Regions from separate parts of the Homo sapiens genome. Here regions 1 and 3 are each linked to region 2. Evidence: promoter capture Hi-C in human tissues and cell types (Jung and others, 2019). All regions are on one chromosome and are shown on one strand. Each heading gives the region's core, a stretch centred on a gene start or on the middle of the fragment in contact. The rest is flanking DNA. Distances are from core to core; before and after follow the strand shown.

Region 1 (3,755 bases), core at 1,103-3,602, 150 kb after region 2:
AGCGCCTCCTTTCTCCCTTTTCCTATAACCTTGCTCCGAATAAAGAGACGGCGGAGACCGCGGTCCTTCCTCTGGCCAGTTTTCAACCCTGTATCTGCTCATCCCGTTTGTTTCTATTGCTGCCCCTTTTTAGGTCGCTGGTACCCCTGAAGCTTATCGTTCTCTTCAGAAAGCACCTTTCCTCTCTAGCCGGAAATTTCTTCACCCCATTCAACAAACCGCTTGCCCCTCAAAGGTTGGTCCTTGGGCCAGCAGCAGCTGTAACCTGGGCGCTTGTTAGAAATGCAGACATGTGTTCTTTTTACACTCATTTGAGATAATATCTCCTACACGGAATGTTTCCTGCCCCTGCACAAGAATTGTCTCTTTCCACGCTCTGAGACCACAATACTGTCCTCCGGCGAACTCCAGGGAAATAGCTTAAGTGGGAGATATCAAAATTTATTTTTTTTCCAACCGGCGATCTCTTTGTCCACTCACACACTGGTGGAGCATTTGCGCCGTACACAACTGCATGTACTTTGCCCTTTATTATTAGAGAAAATGTTCTCAGATGTTCTCTGAGGGAAAGAATCCCACTAAATTACACCCTGCACCATCTCCTGCACTACTTTCAAAATTTCAAAGGTTTCTAAATAAGTTTAAAGAGTTGCTCTAGTGGATGTATAATCTGTAACTTTTGTTTTTAAGGGCAGCGTGCTTGGTTTTTCTTTAAAAAATACATCAATGCTTGAAAAAATAGTTTTGAAATTTTCTTATTTAGATGATGTGTTACTCAACTTGTGAAGAAATCTTTTGAAATTACTGTGTAGGTCAGGGTGCAAAATATTTCAGAGGAAAAAATAGAAACACTTCACCTACATATCTGACTTTTTTTTTTTTCTTGCTGTAGGTCAGTAAATCCTCCTCTGTTCACCTACCTCTTCCTTGGTCCTGTTTCAGTGGGGCTGTGGCCCAGTCAAGCTTGCAAATGTGGGAAAGGGAAGTCCCGTTCAATTTTTCTATTGTGTTGCTAACTCTAGTGTTAACTAGAAACCATATTTTCAGAACATTAAAATTCAAGCAAGAAGAAATCTTAATAAAGTTCTACAGATGTTCATAAACCAAGGTAGAGCTCCAAAATTGTGATGTTTTGGAAGAGTTGTTACCCTTTGGGTCTCTGCTTCTGAAACCACAAGGAAAAGACACCTAAGGTTAAGCTTGAAGCCAGGGTCATGAAGAACCTGCAACAGAAGGATGGCTTGTGGTACGCCAGATTCTGGGAGCCCAGCAGGCCTGAGTTTGAACCTGAGCTGTGTGAATTGAGCTAGTCTCTTAACCTCTCTGAGTCTGTTTCCTCATTCACGGAATAGATATAATAACTGTCAACTATTAGAGTACTGTGAGAATTAAATGAAAAAGGGAGTACACAGTGACACATACAGCCTGGATAGTGGTAACTGCTATCCTTAGGTTGGATTATCATTATGATCAGCTTCCTTGTTATCTAAACGCAGAACCTGCCAAGTTCCTGGTATATATGAGTCTAAGAAGATTCCCAGAGGAGAAGAAGGCAGAAGCTGGGGAGTGGGGAGTTATTGCTTAATGGGTATAGATTTTAGTTTTGTAAGGTGATAAGAGTTCTGGAGATAGGTTGACAACAATGTGAATGTTCTTAACACTACTGAACTATTATACACTTAAAAATGGTTAAAGTGGTAAACTTTATGTTATGTGTATTTTACTAGAATTAAAAATTTTTAATGAGCAAAAATAAATTATAGATCAGGGAGTTTAGAATGGAGTTTAGAAATTTATACGTTTTGACGATTGTCTCAGATAATTCTGATGCCTACTATTGGCACCTCATATGGTTTTGTTGTGTCCCCACGCAAATCTCATCTTGAATTGTAGTTCCCATAACCCAGTGGGAGGTAATTGGAACATGGGGGTGGTTTCCCCCATGCTGTTCTCCTGATAGTGAGTGAATCTCATGAGATCTGATGGTTTTATGAGCCTCTGGCATTTCCCCTGCTTGCATTCACTCTGTCTTGCTGCCCTGTGAAGAAAGTACCTTTCTTCCCCTTTCTTCCCCTTCATCTCCTGCCATGACTATAAGTTTCCTGAGGCCTTCCCAGCCATGCAGAACTGTGAGTCAATTAAACTCCTTTTCTTTATAAATTACCCAGTCTTGGGTATTTCTTCATAGCAGCATGAGTACGGACTAATATGGTATCTCATACTTTTTTCTAACTTTTTATTTTGAAATAATTATAGATTCACCAGAAGTTGCAAAGATAATATAGAGAGGTCCTAGGTACCCTTCATCTAGTTTATCTTACATAATTATAGTACAATATCAAAATCAAGAATTTGACATTGGTACTATGCATATATATGTCTTTGTGTCATTTATCATATGCGTACATTTGCGCAAAAACTACCACAATAAAGATACAGAACTGTTCCACCTTAAAGATCATTCCCATACTTCTCCTTTTTATGCACTCATACCACTCCTAATCATCTCTAACCCCTGACAACCACTAATCCGTTCCATCTTTGTAATTTTGTCATTTTGAGAATGTTCTATAAATGGAATTATATCCTTTAGACCTTTCTGACTCAGCATAATGCCCTTGCGATCCATCCAAGTATGCATCAATAGTTTGAGTCTTTTTATTGCTAAGTACTATTCCATGGTATGGATGTATGAAAGTTTATTTAGTCATTCATCGATTGAGGGTTATTTTAGTTGTTTCCAGTTTTTGGTTTTACAAATAAATCTTCTATGAATAATTGTGTACAAGTTTTTCTCTTTAAGAGGCGGGGTCCCTCTATGTTGCCCAGGCTAGCCTCATACTTCTGGCCCCAAGGGATCCTCCTACCTTTGCCTCCCAAAGCACTTGTACAGGTTTTTGTGTGAACACAGTATTTATTTCACTGGGACAAATGTTCACAAGTGTCATTGCTGCGTCATATGGTAGTTGCATGTTTAGTCCTTAAGAAATTGCCAAATTGTTTTTCAAAGTGGCTATACCATTTTATACTCCTACCAGCAATATATGAGTGATAGATGTTCTCTGTATCATGGCCATCATTTGGTATTGTCACTATATTTTAGCTGTCCTGATAGGTGTATGGTAATATCTCATTGTGGTTTTAATTTGCATGTCTCCAATGACTAATGATGTTAAACATTTTTTTGTGTGCTTATTTGCCATCTGTATATCAGTCAGTGAAATGTCTCTTCACGTCTTTTCTTATTTTCTAATAGATTTTATTTTTTACTGTTGAATTCTGGAAGTTCTTTATATATTCTAGATCTAAGTCTTTTGTGAGATATATATGGTTTGCAAATATGTTCTCCCAGCCTATAGCTTGTCTTTTCATCATCTTAGTAAGGTCTTTCAGAGAATAAAAGTTTTAAATAAAAGTTTTACTTTAATTTTGATGAAGTCCAATTTGTCTATTTTTTAATGGATCATGCTGTTGGTGTCATGCCTGAGAACTCTTCACCAAGCCCTAGGTTCTGCAGATTTTCTATGTTGTCTTCCGAAAGTGTTTTACATTTAAATCTATAATCCACTTTGAGATGATTTTTTAAGATGTTATGTTTAGGTTGAGGTTAATTCTTTTGCCTATGGATATCCATTTTTTCCAGCATCATTTGTTGAAAAGAGTATCCTCCCACTATTGAATTGCTTTTGCACCTTTGTCAAAAATCAGTTGGCCCCACTATTACTGGATTCTCTATTCTGTTCCATCAACATAGG
Region 2 (3,939 bases), core at 148-2,647:
AAAGTAGAACCTCTCACACTTCGGGGTGATTAAATTTTACCTCTGGCCCCGGAGGATTGGTAGAGAGATTCGACTTAATCACCAAGCCGGGGCTGCAAAAAAGCCAGCTTACCAGGGCACCTCACTCAAGTACATCTGGGAAGTAGGGGTCTTTAATTTACATTACAGATCGTCAGAAGCAAGGATAAGATAAATCAGATCATTTGGGGGCTGAAAAAAACGACGGTCGAATATTTAATCTGCGAAACTTGGCAGTGGATTTGAATAAACCCACAGTCGGGGAAGTTAGTTAAATTGGTTTGGGAAAGGGAACAGCAGAAATTCCGTAGTGGCAGCTGACGGCCACAAGACGCTATTTTACATGAGTAAAAATGCTTGCTATAAGGTGCCCGGTTGCAGGCGACCGAAGGCGCAGTGATGGAGAACTGACGCGGGTGACTTGTCTTCTTCAACATCACACACTTCTCCCGATGGCTGATGTAGTGCTCCCCTGGGAGCACCCTCTGCTAGTCCGGCCAGACGGTTCCTTAAGGTGTCAGGAGGGCCCGAACCTGAGTGCGGTCTCTCCGCATCTCCGCGCCCGGGGTTAACGATGGCTTGGGAGTGTGGGCATTGCTCCCGAGGCCAGGGGCAGGAGGACTGGTGGTTTAGAAGCAGAGGGGTTTGCGGGAGAGAAGAGAACAGAAAATCTCGCAGACGCGCGGTGGCCTCCCTTCCCGGCGCCTGTCCGCCGTTCCCGGCCGGAGGTCAGCAAGGCCAGTAGGATCCACCTTCCGCCTGCGCTGTGGCCGCGGAGCCCCAAGCGAGTCGTGCCAGCCCCGCGGCTGGCCAGCGAGGGGGCGAGCGGCGGACGCAGCGCGGCCCGAGCTTCCCGAGCCAGTCACTTTGGGCTGCGTCCCCCACGTCCATTCCTCCTCAGACGGGGCGAGTGGGCGCCGCCTGGCATTGAAGCTGCAGCGCGCTCACCTGTACTGGTCGAACTTGGCGTACATTGCCCACTCGGTGGGGTCGCTCTCGTAGGCTTCCATGATGGCCTGCACCTCCTCTACATTGACCTCATCGCCGGCAAAGAGCTGGTGCAGGATGCGGATCAGATCAGCCAGGGTCCGTGGCTTCAGCACTTCGGTCTGTTCCATCTCGTGGGGAGCTGGCTGCGCGCGCGTCTCACTGCTGGGCTGCGGTGGAGGAGCTGAGCGAGCCAAGGAGCTGGGGGCGAGGGAGCCTAACAGCCCGCTAGACCGCTAAGCAGACACACACGCACAAACCCAGCATTAGAGTGCCGAAACGTAAGGATGTCGTCGCAGAGACAGCAAGAGACCCACCCCCAGGCCCCTGGCAGCGCAGTGGATCCGGGATCGCTGGAGACGCGGTGCACACACAAATCAGGTTCAGATCTGTGGGGTTCATCCTCCCGGGCCCCTTTTAAGCGCTTGGAGTCACTAGGAATGTACCAACGGCCCTCGGAGGGAGGACGAGGCGGAGAGCCACCCAAGAAAGGTGGCGGAGGCGGGGAGACCCTGCGGGCACGGCTCACGCGCACATCCCCGGCTTCCCCGGGCTCCGCGCCTTCCCAAGAGCCCCGTTGTCTCCGGCGTCCCAGGGATCGCGTGGGCTCCGCGCAATCTCTCCCCCACTTTAACGGCGCGTTTTAGCCGCCCGGCCTAACGCCTCTCCCCGCTCCACCTCCGCCGCTGTGGTTCGCGACGCTGGGACGTAGACAAAAAGGGTCGGAGGAGATGGCTGCGGGGACTGACGCTGAGTAAAGGAGGAAAAGAAAAGGGAAGGAGAGGGACACTTCTTCCAAATAGAGAATTGTGAGGAGCCTGCGAAAATTGAGGATGGATTCCACTCCTAGGCCAGAGAGTGCCTGTTTTGTCGATTGAAACTATCCACGATATGCCCCAGGCTAGGTGAAAATAAGTCCAAGACTTTATATATATATATATTTAAGTATACACACACACATATTTTTTAAAATGCGTACTGAAATATATTTTGACAAAGGAGACTCGGGTCTCTAGTAAGACAATTAGTGAAATGATGGAAAACCAAGAACTCTTTGATTTTAAAATCAAATATTTTCTTTTAAAAAATATCCAGTGCAAATAACCTGATATTTCATTTGATGGTGTAAAAGGGGGCTTTTTCTGAGGGGATAGGGCGGGCTCTGACGCAATAATTTAAGAGGCTATAATTATATTTGAATCTTTCAACCTTAGGCATGTGCTTGAAGGAGCCTGCTAGTACATACATATAAGGAAACACGTTTCTACGTCATGCATAGCACCTAGTACGTTGGGAACAACACAAATCAAGTACAGTAGGATTTAAATGAGAAAGATGTGAAAGGTGGAAGAAATGCAAGTGTAGATTTCTTCCTTCTCATTATGGATGGACGCAGGGAATAATTTGGATTTAAGGTTATTAAAGTTCTAGACTTCTGAAGACCTGTTTTTTTCTAGACTATGATCACCCTCCCTCGTGTATATACATGTATACAATGAAATTTACTTGTGCCAGGTAGTCTTAAACATCTCTGGTAAAACTCGCTACATTATATTCTAACAGTGTTGTTAAAAGCGGAATCACCTATTGTTCAAAAATGGCTACAAGTAGAAAGCATTCCAGAAGCCAGCCTTGGTGATGTGTGTTGCTGCGGGGTAGTGAATTAACAAAGTATTTTGTGACAGAGTAACCTGTAAACTTTTCATGGTTTCCTCAAATTATTTTTTATTCTTGGCAATGTTTTCTATTGAGTCTCTTAATTACTTCATTTCAGCTAGTCTAATCCATAAATGTTTGGAATGAACAACAAAAATGAAATGCAAGCACAATTTATCTTTTCTGCATTTCAGTTGATAAAACTTCTAAATTTTTCTGACAATTCATTTTCTTTCTCTGACTCCTCTTTTTCTTTTTACATTTTTATGAAAGTAATATATTCACGTAGTTAAAAAAAATCAATAGTACTGGAAGGTCAATGAAAAGCAGCAGGCCCTTTTAACCATTCCTGACCATCTGTCCTGTGCTTAAAGAGTCAGTCTCTTAACTCTTCTAACTATTCCTTGTGGTAGTTACTTCCTTTTTCCAAAAATAGGCTTATATTTTTTTTTGTTTCAGCAATTTTAGATATTATCTAGTCATTTTACATTATGATAGCTCCATTCGTTTATTATTCATTCATTAATTTATTCAACAAATGTTTTTTCGGGTGAATAGAAATTTTCATTTCACCTGAGTAAATACCTAGGAGTGAGATTGCTGGGCCATTTAGTCAGTGCATGTTTAAATTTGCAAGAAATTGACATACTAATTTGCAAAGGGTCTGTGCCATTTCACATTCTCAACAGTGATGTATGAGTTCTAGTTGCCCCGCATCCTCGCCAGGTATTGTCAGTTTTACCAATTTTGGCCAAATAGAGGTGTGCTGATATTGCATTGTGTTCTTCATTTTCTATATCTCTAATTCTTATGGGCAGGTCTTTGTTCTTAGAGCTCCCAAGATGGTGGCCACCGCTCCCAGGATGGCAGCAAGCCTTTTGTTCTCTGAACTGGGGTTCTTGGCCTCATGGATTCCAAGGAATGGAACCTTGGACCATGCGGTGAGTGTTATAGCTCTATTAGAAGCCGTGGGTCACAGAAGAGAACCGTGGAACCCAGCTACTAGTGTTCAGCTCAAATAGGACGAACCCGGGCACTTAGCCATGCAGGAACAATGGCAAGCCTTTAGCCGGATCGGGAGTGGCAATGGGTGCCTCGCTGGATCAGCAAAGCAGCGGACACCCTGCCGGATCTGGAGGGGTGGAAGTCGGTGGCGGGTCTGTGACAGTGGCAAACAGCAGTGGTGAAAAGCGAGCGAAAGCTCAGCTCGAGCCATAACAAACACAGACCAGAAGAGTGTGCAGTTGCTAGATTTAATAGAGTGAAAACACAGCTCCC
Region 3 (3,800 bases), core at 583-3,082, 240 kb before region 2:
TGTGCACCAGTGACTGGATGCCTGACTGCAGCAGCCACTACGACAAGAAGGAGGCAGTATAGATGAAGCCTACCATAAGATGGAGCTCATCCTTACAGAGATCTTTTCTTTAATTTTTTTTTAAGTTAAAAGCAATAAATGTATTCTTAAGTGGTAGATGGATTGTTCTTTGGCTTTAGGCAAATGTATTAGAGGAAAGTAACACATATGGCCTTGAAGGGGAAAAATAGGGCAACTATCAAGATCTGGATCTAATTGCTTAACTAGTCTCTTAGCAGTCAGCCTTGAATAATAGGCAAGGTCAGGATGAAAGCGACTTCTAAGAATGCCTTACTCCCCCTGTCCTAAGTACTGTATCTCTATTAAATCACTTACTTTCCAGAACACCTCTGAGGTAGTCATTCCTATGATTTCTACTTTACAAATTGAAAGTATAGAAAGGTTAACTAAATTTGACCAAAGTTACCCAACAAATAAATGTACAACTAAAATTGAACCCAAATAATGGGGCTGCACAGGCTGTACTCTAATCAAAACATACGGCATTCAATATCACAGTAGTTTTACATAAAATCTAAGCATTAAACATAATTTTTGCTAGATCTATCCCACCCTGAAACTCACAAATCACAGTGTATGTAAATGTCTGCATTCGTTTCCCTTTGTTAATGTTTCCTATATTGCTGAACAACATCTTTGTTCTGAAACACAGAAAAGATGCACATGATTATATGCATACAGGAGCTAAGCAACACATTTTTCCTGAAATAAACACTAGTCCCACTTATTATGTACCCCATTTTTCCTCCTCCCTCTAAATCAAAGCAGTGTTTCATTTAACATATGTGTCATCTAGTATGAGCAAATAAACTACATAAAGCAAAACAAAACAAGAGTATTTGGCGACCCTTTAAATTATCATGCCAGACATAGTGGACTTCTTGTTCAGAGCTAAAAGACACTGACATCCTCCTCTCTCCCTAGACACAGACAGGGCTTACTAAGAGAGCATCATTTCCATTTCCAAAGGTCATGGAGTTTGTGACAAAATAGTGCTTAGTGATGCTTGTTCAAAAGCTGAAGTGAAGAAAGTACAACAAAAGAAGGGAAGCATTTTAGAATGGGCAGAGACCTTAGTTTTTAGAGCTCAGAAAAAAATCACACAGCTAGAAAATGTTAGAAATCAGCTACTGCAATACTTTGAGTCTTCTGGAGGAAAGTGAAGATTAGAAAAGTTAGCTCCACAGCAGCACAGTGGAATTAGGACGCATAGTTCCTGAGACTCTCTGTCATGAGTTGTGCATACTAGGCAAAGAAGACTAGAATTATGGCAACCTCACCATGAACTTGTTATGGTTTTCTCTTTGTACTACTGGCCTCTCCTAATTTCTCCACCATGAGAAAAGCAGACAGGTACATTGAGAAGCACAATTATGAAGCCTAAGACCCACAAGGCTTTGGAGCCAGACCACTGAATATTTCAATGACTCCATCCTCTACCAGCCTGTGATCTTGGGTATATTACATTTCCAGCATCTGTTTCTTGGCCCAGTATTGGACACTGTATGACTAACCTTGTAGGAATCTGGGGAACACTGGAGATAATGTAAGTTAAGTGCCAAACACAGTAGGTGATAAAAAATGAAACGTATTATTACAAGCATATATTTCTCTACCCATTGACAGTCTTCATCTTTTTTTAGTTCCTCAAATCATTGCACGTGTAGGAAACATCTACAGCACTTAACATGACTACAAGTGAATGCTAATTTAAAAAATAATTATGAACTTTTTCAAACATACAGGAGAGCATGGAAAATAATATACCATCACCAATGTAAGTACCCATTAAAAATACAGAGCTGTCTTGTACGTTTTAAAACTTTATATAAATGTTATCAAATTATCCATATTATTCTATAATTTACTTCTCCCACATATTACATTTTAGAAATTTACCCATATTCACATATGTAGGTTTCCTAGTTATTTTTAATGCCCTATAGTATTGATTTCATGAACCTGCCATAATGTATTCCTGCATCCTCCTACTGATGGACATTTAGATTGTTTCCCATTATTTACCTATTACAAAGAATGCTGCATAGGCATCCTTCTCACTCGTGCTTCTTTGGGTACCTGTGAGAGAGTTTCTTTGGGATACAAATCCAGAGGTAGAATTGCTAGATTCATAAGATATGCCCATCTTCAACATTACTAGTCATTGCTAAATCATGTTTCCAAATCACTGTAGCATTTTATTGTCATCTTTGCTCGAGAGTATTTTTTAGGTTCTTTATTGAGATATATTTTACATACCATAAAATTTACCCATTTCAAGTATACAACTCAACAGTTTTTAGTATATGTGCAGAGTTGTGCAACCAGCACTGCAATCTAATTTTAGAACATTTTAATGTGATAGCATTATTTATAAATACACATAAAATATACAGAAATCTGTAAAGCTTGTTATGTGTCCTGTCCAATATATACATGGAAAACCTCCGGAAGGAGCTAGTTTGTAGAGGTCCCCTACAAATAATAGAAAAAAACAATTTTCTTGATTTAAACCTGTAGTTTGAGTAGGTAGCTGAAAGCAACATTTCTAATTAGATTTGGAAACTGCTTAAATGCAGGTTCCTGTTACTTGCTAATAAAAGCATTTCTAATTATTCACCTCAGAGTGAAAATGACTCAGAACTCACTCTATCTGAAGAGAAATAGAAGTGTGTTAAACTAACTAAAGAAGTGATTTCCCCAGAACAATTCTTGCTCATGACAGAAAGGAAGGCAACTGTGAAGGAGTATAGATGTTGGAGTAAACAGTTGTGAGAGCAGGTTCATTGGCAAAGGAGAAGAGAGAAGAGCAATTGTCTTTCTTTTTTTCCACAAGTTAATTCGTTGAGCTTTTTTTTTTTTTTTTTTTTGAGACAGAGTCTCACTGTATCGCCTAGGCTGGAGTGCAGTGGCCAGATCTAGGCTCACTGCGACCCCTGCTGCCCAGGTTCAAGCAATTCTCCTGCCTCAGTCTCCTGAGTAGCTGGGATTACAAGCACCTGCCACCACGCCTGACTAATTTTTGTATTTTCAGTAGAGATGGGGTTTCACCGTCTTGGCCAGGCTGGTCTTGAACTACTGACCTCGTGATCCACCCACCTTGGCCTCCCAAAGTGCTGGGATTACAGGCATGAGCCACCACACCCAGCCTCATTGAGCTTTTAATCAAATAATTTTCATGCTCTGAGTTATTAATTAATGGCACTTTCAAGTATTACTTACCTCAATCCAAACTTAATATGTTAATTGACAAGAGTATTGCCACATATGACATATATATATATATATATATATATATATATATATATATATATATATATATATATAAGAAAGTTGTCCTTATCCAGCCGTTAAGTGTTCAAAATCTAATAAATTTTTCTACTTGGAATCTCATAAGAAACATCAGGTCCATGGACAACAACATCAGTTCTCTGGTTCATTCCTTCTGGTCATTGGCTTAAGGACATCAACTTCCAGATGCTGTGGTTTCATTTCATCAAGTGCCTGACAGCTTTCTGAAATTTCCTCCTTGCCCTTCAGACCATCCACAGGTGTGGAGGGTACGTCACTTTCTGTGACAGCTTAGCAGATGACCTAAGACCAGGCGGTGTAAGACTGAGAAGAGGAGGAAAGTCACAGAGGCAGCGCAGATTGCTCAGGGCAAACACACGGAATCCCACCTTACCAGCAATGCAGCCATGGCAACAGCTTCTCACTAGCCCTGGGGCCAGCCCCACCAC

What was found. Contacts are between HindIII fragments. The study calls those that stand out against the background at their distance.
Region 1: a fragment that was not itself captured here is called in contact with the fragment with the promoter of CDO1 in region 2 in 1 of the 25 tissues and cell types used here (mesenchymal stem cells).
Region 3: a contact is called between a fragment that was not itself captured here and the fragment with the promoter of CDO1 in region 2, in 3 of the 25 tissues and cell types used here (dorsolateral prefrontal cortex, hippocampus and liver).

Annotation. Positions count from the first base shown.
Region 1 is chr5:115,963,730-115,967,484 of GRCh38, forward strand. The region is part of intron 1 of LVRN (laeverin); the gene reads left to right. Among named protein-coding and RNA genes, the nearest start is that of LVRN, 3.1 kb to the left of the region's middle. The HindIII fragment of the contact is 3,590 bases long and covers 558-3,755 here.
Region 2 is chr5:115,815,262-115,819,200 of GRCh38, forward strand. CDO1 (cysteine dioxygenase type 1) reads right to left here and starts at 1,398. Exons shown (of 5, transcript NM_001801.3): 1 at 967-1,398. The coding sequence starts at 1,136. It overlaps LOC124901049 (a long non-coding RNA gene), which reads left to right and starts at 1,827. Exons shown (of 2, transcript XR_007058908.1): 1 at 1,827-1,910. The HindIII fragment of the contact is 9,051 bases long and covers 1-3,939 here.
Region 3 is chr5:115,571,752-115,575,551 of GRCh38, forward strand. No RefSeq gene overlaps it. Among named protein-coding and RNA genes, the nearest start is that of TICAM2-AS1, 29 kb to the right of the region's middle. RefSeq lists enhancers at 3,555-3,604, 3,635-3,704. The HindIII fragment of the contact is 6,791 bases long and covers 1-3,800 here.